Regions from separate parts of the Homo sapiens genome. Here all the other regions are linked to region 4. Evidence: promoter capture Hi-C in 16 types of primary human blood cells and fetal thymus (Javierre and others, 2016). All regions are on one chromosome and are shown on one strand. The core of a region is centred on a gene start or on the middle of the fragment in contact, and the rest is flanking DNA. Distances in the headings are between cores, read along the strand shown.

The links. Contacts are between HindIII fragments. The CHiCAGO score rates a contact against its expected background, and 5 or more counts as called.
Region 1: a fragment that was not itself captured here is called in contact with the fragment with the promoter of RPGR in region 4 in 1 of 17 cell types (total B cells); the score reaches 8.0 in total B cells.
Region 2: a fragment that was not itself captured here is called in contact with the fragment with the promoter of RPGR in region 4 in 1 of 17 cell types (naive B cells); the score reaches 7.1 in naive B cells.
Region 3: a contact is called between a fragment that was not itself captured here and the fragment with the promoter of RPGR in region 4, in 1 of 17 cell types (neutrophils). The highest score is 10.0, in neutrophils.
Region 5: a fragment that was not itself captured here is called in contact with the fragment with the promoter of RPGR in region 4 in 1 of 17 cell types (neutrophils); the score reaches 5.7 in neutrophils.

Annotation. Positions count from the first base shown.
Region 1 is chrX:37,507,518-37,510,217 of GRCh38, reverse strand. No RefSeq gene overlaps it. Among named protein-coding and RNA genes, the nearest start is that of LANCL3, 63 kb to the left of the region's middle. The HindIII fragment of the contact is 2,338 bases long and covers 228-2,565 here.
Region 2 is chrX:37,489,612-37,492,311 of GRCh38, reverse strand. It overlaps the pseudogene FTH1P19. Among named protein-coding and RNA genes, the nearest start is that of LANCL3, 81 kb to the left of the region's middle. The HindIII fragment of the contact is 241 bases long and covers 1,277-1,517 here.
Region 3 is chrX:37,759,939-37,762,638 of GRCh38, reverse strand. No RefSeq gene overlaps it. Among named protein-coding and RNA genes, the nearest start is that of CYBB, 19 kb to the left of the region's middle. The HindIII fragment of the contact is 4,220 bases long and covers 1-2,700 here.
Region 4 is chrX:38,326,113-38,328,812 of GRCh38, reverse strand. RPGR (retinitis pigmentosa GTPase regulator) reads left to right here and starts at 1,304. Exons shown (of 15, transcript NM_001034853.2): 1 at 1,304-1,473. The coding sequence starts at 1,446. It also overlaps a transcript of OTC not described here. RefSeq lists a silencer at 1,366-1,615. The HindIII fragment of the contact is 17,506 bases long and covers 1-2,700 here.
Region 5 is chrX:39,137,855-39,140,554 of GRCh38, reverse strand. No RefSeq gene overlaps it. Among named protein-coding and RNA genes, the nearest start is that of LINC01281, 190 kb to the left of the region's middle. The HindIII fragment of the contact is 4,995 bases long and covers 1-2,700 here.

The DNA of each region.
Region 1 (2,700 bases), core at 147-2,646, 820 kb after region 4:
GTAGCCCTGGGGTGTGGCTTGAAATTTTGCATTGCTAGCAAGTTCTCAGTTTAGATTGATACTGCTGGTCCACAGACCATATTTTGAGCAGCCAGATGCTAGTGCTGGTTTTCAATGCCTGGCATGCCCAGGCCCTGCGCCAGAGGCTTATGTATTTGGTCTGGGATGCTGCCTGGACATTGAGATTTTCAAAAGCTCTGCAGGTGATTTGGATGTGCAGCAAAGCTTGAGAGCCTCTATGCCAAAGCTCATGATGATATGTGGATTTTACTTATGTTGTCAGTGGCCCTAATGTGTTCTCTTTTTCTCATTCTCCCCCCAGTGCCCACCTAGCCATTCCTCTCCTTTTCAGCTCCAAACATCCAGACAAAGGTGGGGATCAGGGTGAGCACTTCATCCTGTTGCTCTTGTCCATCTCTGAAGAGTGGGAGGAAGTTCAGGATGGAAACAGGAGACTCAGGCAACCTGGGTTTGGGAAGAACAAGAACAGTGTTCTAGGAGTGAATTCAAGGGAAAGCTGGTTGAGATAGAATGGGCGGGGGCGGGGAATAGCACGGAAAGTTGTCACAGGACAACCTTCCTCCTGTCTTGGGACTGAGGTGTGGGGGGTAAGGAAAACAGCCATGTACCCTTCTGAGTCCTGGAGACACCTGACAACCAAACTATCTTCTAAGGTTTTTTCCTTCTCAGTATGCAGGGCAACTGGTTACTAGACATGCAAGAGAGACCCCCAGTGGCAACGTGTAGAAGTGAAGTATTTTCCCAAAGCATAAAGACCACAAAGAAACATAAGGGTAGAGGATGATGGCTTCCAGCCCATTGTTTTTATCAAACTAATGCAAGGACAGAAAATCAAATACCACATGTTCTCACTTATAATTGGGAGCTAAATGATGAGAACACGTGGACTCAAAGAAGGAAACAACAGACACTGGGGCCTACCTGAGTGTGGAGGGTGGGAAGAGGGAGAGGAACAAAAAAATAACTATTGGGTACACGGTTTAGTACCTGGATGATGAAATAATCTATTCAACAACCCCCCATGACAGCAGTTTACCTATATAAAAACCTGCACTTGTTCTCTTGAACCTAAATAAAAGTTAAAAGAGTAGAGGATGATAATGGTGATAAATCATGAGTACCACATTGTAAACATACACTGTGCCAGGCATTACTCTAAGTGATTTACATATATTAACTCATTTAATCTCAACAACCCAATGGGGTTAATGCTTTTATTATCCCTATATTACATATGGAGAAACTGAGGCACAGAAAAGTTGAACAAATTACTCAAGTTTACCCAAAATGAGAGGCTAAGATTGGATTTGAACCCAGGCAATCTGAGGTTAAGAAAACACTACACCAAATTTTCTCTCCAAAACAAAAAATTAAGAAGTCCCCTCAGTCAACTTAAAGTTTGAAACACTCAAAACTTAATGCTTGCTCGTTCTTTCTCATATCCACAGGAGAACGGTCAAGGGACATATATATTTCAATAGGTAATAGCTGAGACAAAGTCAGAGAATTCAGAAGTCCTTACAGTAGGCAGCGAAAGAGATGCAGTGAGAAGACCAAGTTTGACAAAGATGTGTAAAAAGGCGAAAGCATTTTCTGTAAACTGAACTCAAAGTGCCAGAATCCTAATTTTTAAGAAAAGTGTTACAGTGCACTCATACGGAAATGTGGAAGACAATTGTTGCACAGCGAAACTTGTTCGTATCTTAATAAATGCTTATATGGTTTGACTGTGTCCCCACCCAAATCTCATCTTGAATTGTACTCCCATAATTCCCATGTTTTGTGGAAGGGACCCATTGGGAGATAATTGAATCATGGGGGCAGTTTCTCCCATACTGTCCTACTGGTGGTGAATGAGTCTCACAAGATCTGATAGTTTGATAAGGGGAAACCCCTTGGCTCTCCTTCTCTTCTCTTGTCTGCCGCCATGTGAGACATGACTTTCACCTTCCACGATGATTGTGAGGGTTCCCCAGCCATGTGGAACTGTAAGTTCAATAAACCTCTTGCTTTTATAAACTGTCCAATCTTTGGTATGTCTTTATCAGCAGCCTGAAAAATGGACTAATACAATGCTCAAAACAATTTGCTAGCTTTGAAATGATGCAAGCTACCCATGTGTCTTTGACTAAAGCATAGAGTCTGTAAATTTTTGACTTTTACCTTTGTAACCCACAGAAGAAAGAAGACTTTTTTGTTTCTTATTTCTTTGTAACTTTCTTTTGTGGCACAGAAGATAGATGTTTGAAGTATTTTTCCTCAGACATGGGCAACGTTAGAGTTTACATGGATGGAGGTTTCCTTCGGTCAAATAGAGAGTGGACTGAGAGAGGAGAAGAGTTTTTAAAGGGGAACAAGAAAAAAGAAAACATAGAGAAACAAGTGTATCATTTCCATATGAAATATTCTTTATACTAGGAAATAATATCTTTCTATCCAGAGCCATGAAGAAAATGTAAAAGGTGAACTTTTCTCTATATCTTGAAAGGAGAATCCAGAGGCCACACTGAGCTTCTCAGGAACAGGATGATTTTGAGGTAAGCTTGGGGCAGACATTGGGAATAAGGTAATAAACTTGGGGCAGATAAAGGTCAAGGTGGGACCAGCAACTCTCTGGGTGTTCAAACACCTCAACCATCTTCTAAATGTTAGCTGCCCTGCACTTTGGACTAGATTTCT
Region 2 (2,700 bases), core at 148-2,647, 840 kb after region 4:
GCACTCCATGGCCTTGAGCCCGCTCTCCCAGCCTTGGCCCTCTGGCTTCCTGATGTCATGAAGGCAGATGCGGCCACCGCGCAGGTTCTGCAGGCTCATCAGCTCCTGGGCGTGCTCCCTTTTCTCCTGCGACTGGCGCAGGAAGTAGCGGTCAAAGTGCTCCAGGGCCGCGTCGTCCTGGTCGAAGTAGAAGGCCATGGACAGGTACACATAGGATGCGTGGAGCTCCAGGCTGATGTGGGTGTTGATGGCAGCCTCACAGCTGGGATGGTGGTACCGTCGCACCGGCGACAGCGGGCCCAGGGCGGGCAGCGCGGGCGCTGGGAGGAGGGGAAAAGCAGTGGGTTTGCCAGGGGCCCGGAGCGGGTAGTGGCATCGGCGTGGGCAGTGGCGGCAGCGGCGGGGTCCTCGGAGCACCACCATGGTGGACGACAGCGGCGGCTGGTGGAGGGCGTCGTCCCCCGGGCCCGGTGGTAGTGTGGTCACAGGCTCTGCGAAGGGACCGGAAGTGAGCGGTGGAGACCTTTATGCGGGGAGGAGCGCACAAGGTCGGGCGGGTGTGGGCTGGTGCGGAGCTGCGAGGGACTTCTGACAGGTGGGGGTGGGGGAGCACGCTGAGTTCTATGGGCAGCCCGGGGAATTGGGCACTATCAGACCTCTGTGCTACGTCAATTCTGTAGTAACTTTTCTAGTGTCCAAGGACTTTCGCCTGTCCCCTGATTGTTCCCCTCTATGACAGCTTGTTCTCATTTCATAAACTTCTTGTCTTTCTTAAACTCTGAGAGTATGTTCTGATAACGTTTTCTTCTGTTTCCTGTATTATATCCTTTTTTCCCTCCTCCAGAATTAGTTCTATTTGTGCATCTTCCTCACTTTCCTTAAATATCTGGAAAACGTTTGTCCATTCATGATTGGAATCAAGGACTGGGTTAGCCTCGGTGATGAGCATGGACCTAATGCACAGTTGTGAGTCTGGATGACCAGTAGGATTCTCCCATGAACAGGAGGGTGGAGGGTGTCAATTAGGGAGTGCTCATCTCCTTTGGAGATAAAGGTATAGAGCTCCCAGGCAGAGTAGGAACTATTCTAAATGCCCAAAGCATGGCATTTCTCTGGCACTGGAAAACTTTAGTGGATCTGTCTTCTAGGTAGATGTCAACTTCCCTTTAAATGCTCACCCATGTCTGCTGCACCCTGAAGCTTAATTCTGTCTGCAGGAGGGATGACTCCACATGATAGGGAATGTGATTTCAGATATGTTTTCAGGATCAAAGCTTAAACACCAGAGTAAAGACTCCTTTTTTAAAATTTACTTCGAAAAGTCCTGTATGTTCACAGTTTTAGGTACTCAATAACTAATCCCCGTGTCTTCCCTGCTGAATTTGAAACCAATTAGTAGACACAAGACTCAGCTCACTGAAGAACAAACTTAGGTCTGTAGCAAAATGAACTTGATAGTACTTTTCAAATCTTCCAATTAGAGAAACTCGCTGTGGCAGAATAACTTCACCAAAGCTTATTTGTTTTCATCTTGGTCCACAAGTAACCATATTTTTCAAGCTACTCTTGTGATTTGATGGGGACATGTACTGATTTCTGGCTATTGGAATATGAAAATAACTGATGTATGGCCAAATAAGGCCTAGTTTATAGGACACACCCTGTGCAATCCATGTCTCAAGTGAAGAAGAGGAACAGACCCTACAATATGACATATCCAATTTGGAGAAGGAGCCTGGAACTTTGGAAAACTTATGGAGAATGTCCCCTCATCATTGTCACCACCAACTTGCACTGGACCTTGATAAAAACAAAAAATAAAAATTTACTTTAAAAGCTAAAGAGATTAGAAACATTTGTTACAGGAGATAGCCTCTTCTAACTAATCAAATTAGCTAGTCAAAGAAGGTACTGGATAACCACAGGCTGTACCCACAGGGTCCTGTAGGCTTATGGCACTGGAGTGCATACCAGAACACACCCTCTCAGTGGGAAGGCAGATGAGAAAAAGGAGAGGTTTAGATAGCTCTGGGTTATCACACTTTCTTCCTTTTGCTTACTGCACCAAATACACACACATACACACACACACACACACACACACACACACACACACACACACACACACACACATATCTCAATCCTTCTCCTTTTTTTCCTTCTGGAGAGTGAAATTTAAAATCCCTCATTGGCCAGGTATGGCAGCTTACCACTGTAATCTCAGCACTTTGGGAGGCCAAGGCAGGCAGATTGCTGGAACCCAGGAGTTCAAGTCCAGCCTGGGCAACATGGCGAAACACCCCTCTACAAAAAAATATTTTTAAAAAAAAGGCATGGTGGCACACACCTGTAGTCCCAGCTACTCAGGAAACTGAGGTGGGAGAATTGCCTAAACCCAGGAAGTCGAGGCTGCAGTGAGCCATGATCCCACCACTGCATTCCAGCCTGGGCGACAGGAGTGAAAGACTCGGTCTCCAAAAGGAAAAGAAAAAAGAAAAATCCCTCATGGACTCTTGAAGATCAAGGAAAGATGCTTTCCTTCTGCCTCGATGTCCTGGAATAAAATCAGGCTGGTCCTTGGGTACCTAACCTTAAGCCAGGAACACAAAGCACAGGGGCAGAGATCACGACTATCTGACCCCAGAGCCAGTCAGCTGTGGTGAGGAAGGTGGGACATGTAGCAACATAAAGCTCTCCTGG
Region 3 (2,700 bases), core at 119-2,618, 570 kb after region 4:
TCAGTCAAAGAAGGAATAGCCAAGAAAATTTAACTTAATTTTATAGTACTCAAGGAAAAGTCATGGGTGGAAACTGTTAGGTCAAGCTCTGAGGGAGAACAATGAAAGATTAATGAAAAAAATATATGCCTTATTTCTCTCAGTGTTAGTGACTACATCTTTCTCAAAATTATATATCCTCTTCAATGCAGCATACTTTACTTTTATTTAAATTACTTAAATGAAGAGCTTTAATATTATAGAAAAAGCATAACTGAATGTGAAAGTCAGCTACACTCCTTTCAACTGAGTTAATCCATTAGTGGAAGTCTAGCTGCATAAACCAGGCACCACATCCAGGTGGTGGCATCAACAGCCACTTCATGTCTCCCATATCCACTGGTGGCACCTTCATGGATTTCTCAGCATGTTGCTTGTTTTAAGCAGGGCATTTAGTTGCAAACAACAGAAGCCAACTTTTGATTAACTCTGTCAAAACATAACTTATCAAAAAGCTACACAATGTCTTGATAGATTGACAGGAAGGTTGGAGAAACAGAAGGGGAAACAAGGCAAGAATAAAGGGAAGCCAAGGTGATGCCAAAGGAAAACATCTGGATCAGTGGCATCTACCACCAGCACTGGCAGTAGAATGGGATTCTAAACTCTCCTACTTCTCATCAATATATAAAGTCCTGGAAGCATCTCATTATGTTTCTGCTTTTGCTCCATCTGCCAAGAATCAAAGAGAATAAATATTTCAGCTTTTCGTCTTCTGTCACAGTGGTGGATTCTTCAAGCACAAGAAGGAGCTTTATAGGATGGGCAGCTAAGGATTGGGTAATTTCTATCACAGCACCAGTGAGGAAAGTAAATGCTAGAGTTTTGGTCACACCCACACACATAATGCCTTTTCCAGTTAAGACAGTCTGTAGAAAGAATGCTGCAGAAATTTGTGCATCCATGAGACACAGATGCATAGGAAATCAAATTTTTATATTCTGTTTCCAGAGATTCTACTACCTTTACCTATCTCCTCTCAGCTTTCTAATCCCTCAGGCAGTACATCTGCCCCTCTGAGAGAGGTTGAAAGGTGAGTGGGTTTCATCAATAAAATATAAATGGTATAGACAATGGTACATACACTAGTACATGTTTAATAACTGCATCTCTGGATTTAGAGAGGCAGCCCTGATTTGTAGAATTTGCCCATTTCTGTGGTGTAAATACTTCCACCATGGCAGATTTCAAAGATGGTTATATTTAATATCCAGTTTACAAAATTTCTGAAAGTTTAGCAATTAGCTTTCATGACCAAGTATGCAATGGCTTTGGCATAACACTGAGTGGATAAGAGTGACATAAGGCCTAGCAGTTAAGAGGAAAAATAAACTTGCTAAAAGTATGTGTGAAAAGAAAAAGAAAAAATGGCCACTGTATTTCTAATATATATTTATCAATTTGGAAAAGAGAAAAGAGAGACAAGTAGGAAATTAGAGAGTCACAGTTTCAAGGCCCATCAACTGATAAGTTATAGGAAATGATGAACATAAATGTAGCCTAAAATAAGTGAGGTGAGAGAACTCCATGAAAACAAGCAGAGAAAATAATTGATCTACTGTTTTGGGTTAGAGAACTTATTTAAAGAGGCTTGAGAAAAAAGAGCACCTGGAACAAATCTTGAGGGTTAGATATATTTATCATTCATTGCTACAAAAATGTTGCATAGAAACTACTGCAGATCATCGTGGCTTAAAATATTAATCATGCATTATTGTTCTTGGGTCCATGAGTTGTCTAGGTAGTTCTCTTGGTCTTCACCAGGGTCACTTATATATCTGCACTCATCTTTGGGTTGGATAGGTGGCTCTGTTGATCTTGGCTGAACTCATTCATATGTTTGAAAGGCATCTGGTTCTTAGCTGGTTTAGGATGGCTTCAGTTTTTCTTCATTGGTTCCTCTTATCCTTCCAGAAAGCTAACCCAGACTTACTCTCATGATGAGTTAAAGATGCAACAGTGAGTGAGCCAAATCTTACAAAAGAGCAAGAGGAAATATATATGAGCTTTTCTTTTCTTTTCTTTCTTTTTCTTTTTCTTTTTTTTTTTGAGACAGAGTCTCGCTGTGTTGCCCAGGCTGGAGTATAGTGGCAAGATTTTGGCTCACTACAACCTCTGCCTCCCAGGCTCAAGCGATACTCATGCCTCAGCCTCCTGAGTAGCTGGGATTACAGATGTGAGCCACCACACCTGCCTAATTTTTATATTTTTAGTAGAAACAGAGTTTCAGTATGTTGGCCAGGCTGGTCCCAAACTCCTGGCCTCATGTGATCTGCCCACATTAGTCTCCCCAAGTGCGGGGATTACAGGTGTGAGCTTTTCAAACCTCTTCTTGCATCACATTTGCTAACATTTGATTGGCCAAAGCAAGTCACTTGGCCAATGACTCAGAGTGAGATGGTATCACAAAGCTGCAGCCGTAAAGTGTGGCTAGAGAAAAGCCATTACTTGATTTTATTACTACAATCAATCTACCATTCTAGGTATTATGGAAACAGTGGTAACCATGACAAACATGGTTTTCTCATTCTTCATGGAACTCATAGCCTAGTGGATGGTGCAGAAGTGTTCACAGGCAATTAATACACAGTGTAGTTAGTGGTGTAACATGAGAAGTTTATATTGTATTGGTTCCATATTTAGCAACCCATGACATCTTGT
Region 4 (2,700 bases), core at 55-2,554:
ATTCTGCAATAGCCTCTGAACCCTTCTCACTGCTCCAGTTTATTCTCTACAAAGCATCTAGACCAGGCAGAATGATTTCAGGGACACACATAACTGATCCTGTCCTGTTGTTCTACTGCCTAAAACTTCTCAGTGGTTTCACATTGTCTTTAGGATAAAATCTCAGATCCTTAATAGGCCCAAGACCTTGCCACCTCGCTAGGAACCAGCCTCGCCTCTTGGTGTTCCTGGAAAGAGTCAAGCTCCTTACAAACCTTTATACACAATTTACTCTCTGCCAAGAGCTCTCTCCCCCTCCTGGCTTATCTTTCTCCAGTTCTTAGATTTAATGTTCTTTCTTCAGATAAGCCTTTCTTAACCTCCTACACCAGGTCAACGCTTCTTGTTAACCACTTCCTTAGTAACCTCCACTTTGCTTTGTAAGTAAATGATTATTTGTGTAACTAATAGTTTAATGTCCCCTCTTCATGTTAATGCAAACTTCCTGAGAAAGTGTTGGTAACACACAAGAGTAATTCAGGGATCCCTGAATCCAATTGTGTCTGATTCTAGGGCCCATGTCCACAACTACCAAACGTACGTAAATCTGCTCATTCTGGAAGATGGCTTTTTGCTTCTTTATTTCATGATAGCCAAATGTTGATGCATGGGAAACCCTGCATCATATAACATCGCTGAGCAAATTCTAGAGCAATGATGTTGGGCTACCCCTTTGTGTATGTTCTGTGAGTAGTGGACCATATACACCTCAGCTTTTACTTTTGTTGACTACAGGCTGGACTAGCTGGACTAGCTGCCCACATGCTTAAACAGAGGTAACATTAACCACTTTACAGGGTTGTAATAGTACTCATTTGTCCAATAAATACGTAATGAGCATTCAGTATAGGCCAGATGTTGGTTTAGATGCTGGGGATATCTTTAGCAGAGTGCTTACCTCCTTTAATGTTCCAGCTGGTCACTATTACTAGTAGTGTCATAATTGTGTGTCGATGCTTGCTTATGTCACGGAGTATGGGATTTGTGACGTTTGCCACTCATGGGCAGGGTCCCTGCGGCGCCTGGACCTCCAACGGCACAAGGGCGCGGACTCCACAGCATCACTGCGCGGCGTGGCCGCCTCTCTGCTCCAGGCCGCCAGAGGGCGCGTGGTCTCTACTGCCCCTCCGCTGTGCCTGAGCCTGCCCCTTACCAGCCACCCGGCCTCCGTTCCCCTCCCCAACGGCGCCTGTCCCGCCTTGCATTCCCAAGCTCCGCCCCCGTTGCCCGTAGCGGCTGTTTGTTGACTTCCGGGAGCGCGGTTGTAGTTGATCTCCGGAGTTTCGCCATGCGGAACTTGGGGGCTTTCGCGGCCCGCGTCGGTGCGGAGTAGCTGCTTTAGCCCCGACCAAACCGTCCTCTACAGCCTCCTGGCCCCGGCGCAGGCTGCCCGTACTGCCCGTGGCATGAGGGAGCCGGAAGAGCTGATGCCCGGTGAGTTGCGCCCGCGCCGGTGGCGGAAGGCCGGGAGGGAGGGTCCGCGGGCGGCCGGGCCCCGCCTCCGGATCGGCCCTGTAGGGGGACAGGCCCCAGGCTTGGCAGCCGGACTGGGGCGGGATCGCTGGTTGCGCTCCCGCGAATGACTGAGGGCAGAGGACCGGACGGGAAGAACAGGATGGGGGAGAACGGGAAAGAGGGTGCCTGTCTTTCGTATGCTTTTTAAATAAGCTCTTGATGAGCTTCTTGAAGGCAGGGACACTTTTTTTTTTTTTTTATGAGACGGAGTTTCACTCTTGTTGCCCAGGCTGGAGTGCAATGGCGCAATCTCGGCTCACCGCAACCTCCGCATCCCGGGTTCAGGCGATTCTCCTGCCTTAGCCTCCGAGTAGCTGCGATTACAGGCATGCGCCACCACGCCCGGCTAATTTTATATTTTTAGTAGAGACGGGGTTCCTCCATGTTGGTCAGGCTGATCTCGAACTCCCGACCTCAGGTGATCAGCCCACCTCGGCCTCCCAAATTGCTGGGATTACAGTCGTGAGCCACCGCGCCCGGCCAGGGAGGGACACTTTCTGTAAACTCCCCAAAGTGCGGACTCCAGACTTGTGCACTTTGGAGGTCCTGAGCTCCCGGTTATGTATTGAATGCAGTAAAGAGTGAGTGATCAGGGCTGTGGGGTAAAAGGGGATACAGGAAATAAATTGGACAAAGAGGGAGAAGAGGGACCCTTTAGCGAGTGTTTTTTAGCCTTTTTTTTCCTGAGCTCCATAGTTAGAAATACTTTTGACATTGTGACCCGATACTCCATATATACCGTGTAACAGAAATAGATGTCTGGTGAAGCAGTCCTTGTTCTATCCACTTAGATTCCACACACACCTTTTTGATAATGCATTCTTTTAAAATGCTGATCGTGATCCACTGAATTGATTTTCTGGCCCACTAATAGGTCACGACCATTTTGAAAAAACACTGGGTTTGAGCAGAATCATACCTTCACTGAAATATGTATGTTTTCTTCCATGCTCCTGGCCGGAACTGACATTCCTGGCCTGCAGTTCACAATTTAGTGAGACATACAGGAAAGTAAACAAAATGACCATATAAATTGACAGTAGATATTACAGGGCCAGAGCAGAGCCACCAAACCTTGGCTTGGGATGAGGGTATCAGGGAAGCCAGGGGAGCCAAGACAAAACAGTTAAAATGTTAAAGTAATTC
Region 5 (2,700 bases), core at 49-2,548, 810 kb before region 4:
AAGGGCTTCCTAGACTATTGCTCCATAATGTGAATAGACCCTCCTAATTGATGTCCTTTCTTGCCTCCAATCAATGTAACATCGTGCTCTTTTGGACTGGTCTCAAGCTATGCAGGACAAAGATGGACATTCCTTACCCAAATGATACTGCTCTACTCTATCTGTCCATGGGTTCCTCACCTATCTGCCTCCCTATTGGTGGTGATGTGTGCAAGGCAAGAGTGGAGGTCATCATTGAAAGAGATTACATTCTAGAAATACAATGATGACAGCCTAAAGAGATCAAGGAGAGACATGAGTGGAATATGAGTTGTTCTATAAACTATAACATTCTAAACAATATTGTGTGTGTGTGTGTGTGTGTGTCTGTTTGTGTGTGTGCCAGAGTCTTGCTCTGTCGCCTAGGCTGGAGTGCAGTGGTGCAATCTCGGCTCACCGCAACCTCCACCTCCCAGGTTCAAGTGATTCTCATGCCTCAGCCTCCCAAGTAGCTAGGATCCCAGGTGCATACCACCATGCCCAGCTAATATTTTACATTTTTAGTAAAGATGGGGTTTCACCATGTTGACCAGGCTGGTCTCGAACTTCTGACCTCAAGTGATCTGCCTGCCTTGGCCTCCCAAAGTGCTGGGATTACAGGCATGAGCCACTGCACCCAGCTTAAACAGTAATTTTGGCAAGACCACAAAGCAACTTATTTGCATTTTCTTGCATACTCACTAAGACTTACATTTGTTATCATCATCAACAAAGCACAGTTGATGACCTTTGAGAGAGTCATTGGAAGCCAGTGTTCATGGGTGGCACTACGGATGACGTGGCAACATGGATAAAGTATCCAGCTCTGAATAAATGGAATATGTGGTATGAGGGAACTGAAGAGGCAAGAAGATCTATAGAGTTACAATATAAACAGGTTCCAAAGAGCCATGGCATTGTGAGTAATAACAGCATTGCTACCTTTTTCTTGCAGTGAGTGATAAGAAATTATACAGGAATGACACATTTGGCAATAAAGAACACAAAGAGATAGTTCCTGGACCTGAACAGGAAAAGACGGTGCCAGGATACTATGAAGAATCTTCACAAGCACTGATTGAATAGTAAACAAATATGTAAGTACCTCTTCTAATCCCATCATTCTGAATTTTCATCGATAAATCAGTATACCTCACATAAGCCCACCAGTTTGGTAGCACATTTTAAAAATTAAATTGTTCATATAGATAACCCTTGCCCCTTCAAAAAAATACTTACACAGGGATCCTGCACCTAGGAGTGGCTCTAATCAAACATGGAGGTCTTGTTGAGTTATAATGCTTGAACCTAGACCCTGGCCTTATAACTTCCTTTTATTCATAATTGGTCTCAGTGTGTAGCAGGTAACCCTTTATTCTTAGTTTAACAGTTCTATTTTGGCCCCTGCATTTGGGCAATAAAAAACAACAGGCTAGTTGTGAAGCCCAAGTAATTTGTCCCTTGCTTCCAAATTCAAAGCTCCTGTTCAATTTGAGCAAATGGTTTACTACAATGAGGATAATTATTTCCTTTGTCAGGCAAAGAGTACTCATCTGGAGATATTTGGAAGCAGCCAAGGGATTCTGATTTTCCACAGATCTTTCTTGGGACTGATTTTATCCCTCACTACCTTTCCCTCCTCCCTGCCTTGGTGAACTCTAACTTTAGGTTGGGGCATAAAGTAGGACTTTTTCAGTCCCATCAAGACTCTGAGTCATGTTTCTCATATATTTGAGGTTGCTAGCCATGAAACCACCTTTGGAAAAATTATTACTGAGGAAATTATAACAGTGAGATAAATCTGACATGGTTGACTCCATCTTGTCTCTTGCCTCACAGGTTGGCTGTCTTTGCTCATTCCTGGGTGTGGGCCAAGCTAACTTTGGGAGAAATTTATAGTTTAGATCATAGCCCTTCCCAAAAAGGAAACTGCTCTTGTAAAACTAATGGAAGGCCACCAAGTAAGGATGAAAGGGGCTTGGATTCTATTAATAAATAATTACCAGCCATTATTCTAGAGGTCATAAGATTTGCAACTTCTCCAATTACTCTTGAAGATAACATCACTATTGTAGAATCTAAGGTTGGCCTTTTGAGATGTCTTTTCAGGTTTCTGCATTTCTGACAACCAGATGGCCGCACCTGGACCTGCCAACCAGTCCTGTGGCCCCCACCCAGGAAATGACTCAGCATAAGAGGACAGCTTTGACTCCCTATGATTTCATCCCCGAGCCAATCAATCAGCACTCCTGATTTACTGGCCTGCTACCCACCAAATTATCCTTAAAAACTCTGATCCTTGAGTCTTCTGGGAGACTGATTTGAGTAATAATGAAACTCTGGTCTCGTTTATAGCCAGCTCTGCGTGAATTAAACTCTTTTCTATTGCAATCCTCCTGTCTTGACAAATCAGCTCTGTCTAGGCAGTGGGCAAGGAGAAGCCATTGGGTAGTTATAGTCTCATTAGGAAGAGTCTCTCTTAGTAGAGGTATAAGCTACTCCCTATTTGCTTCCAGATGGAACAGGCTTTCTCGTAGGACCTTGAGGAAAAGCTACAAGAAGTAGTTCCAACATTCCACACTTCTAATATTTTCCTACTATGCAAAATAGTTCCAGTGTAAGTAGGCATATTGCCTGTATCTGAAGATCCAGGGGATGACAATTTAACTAGCTGCTTTGCTA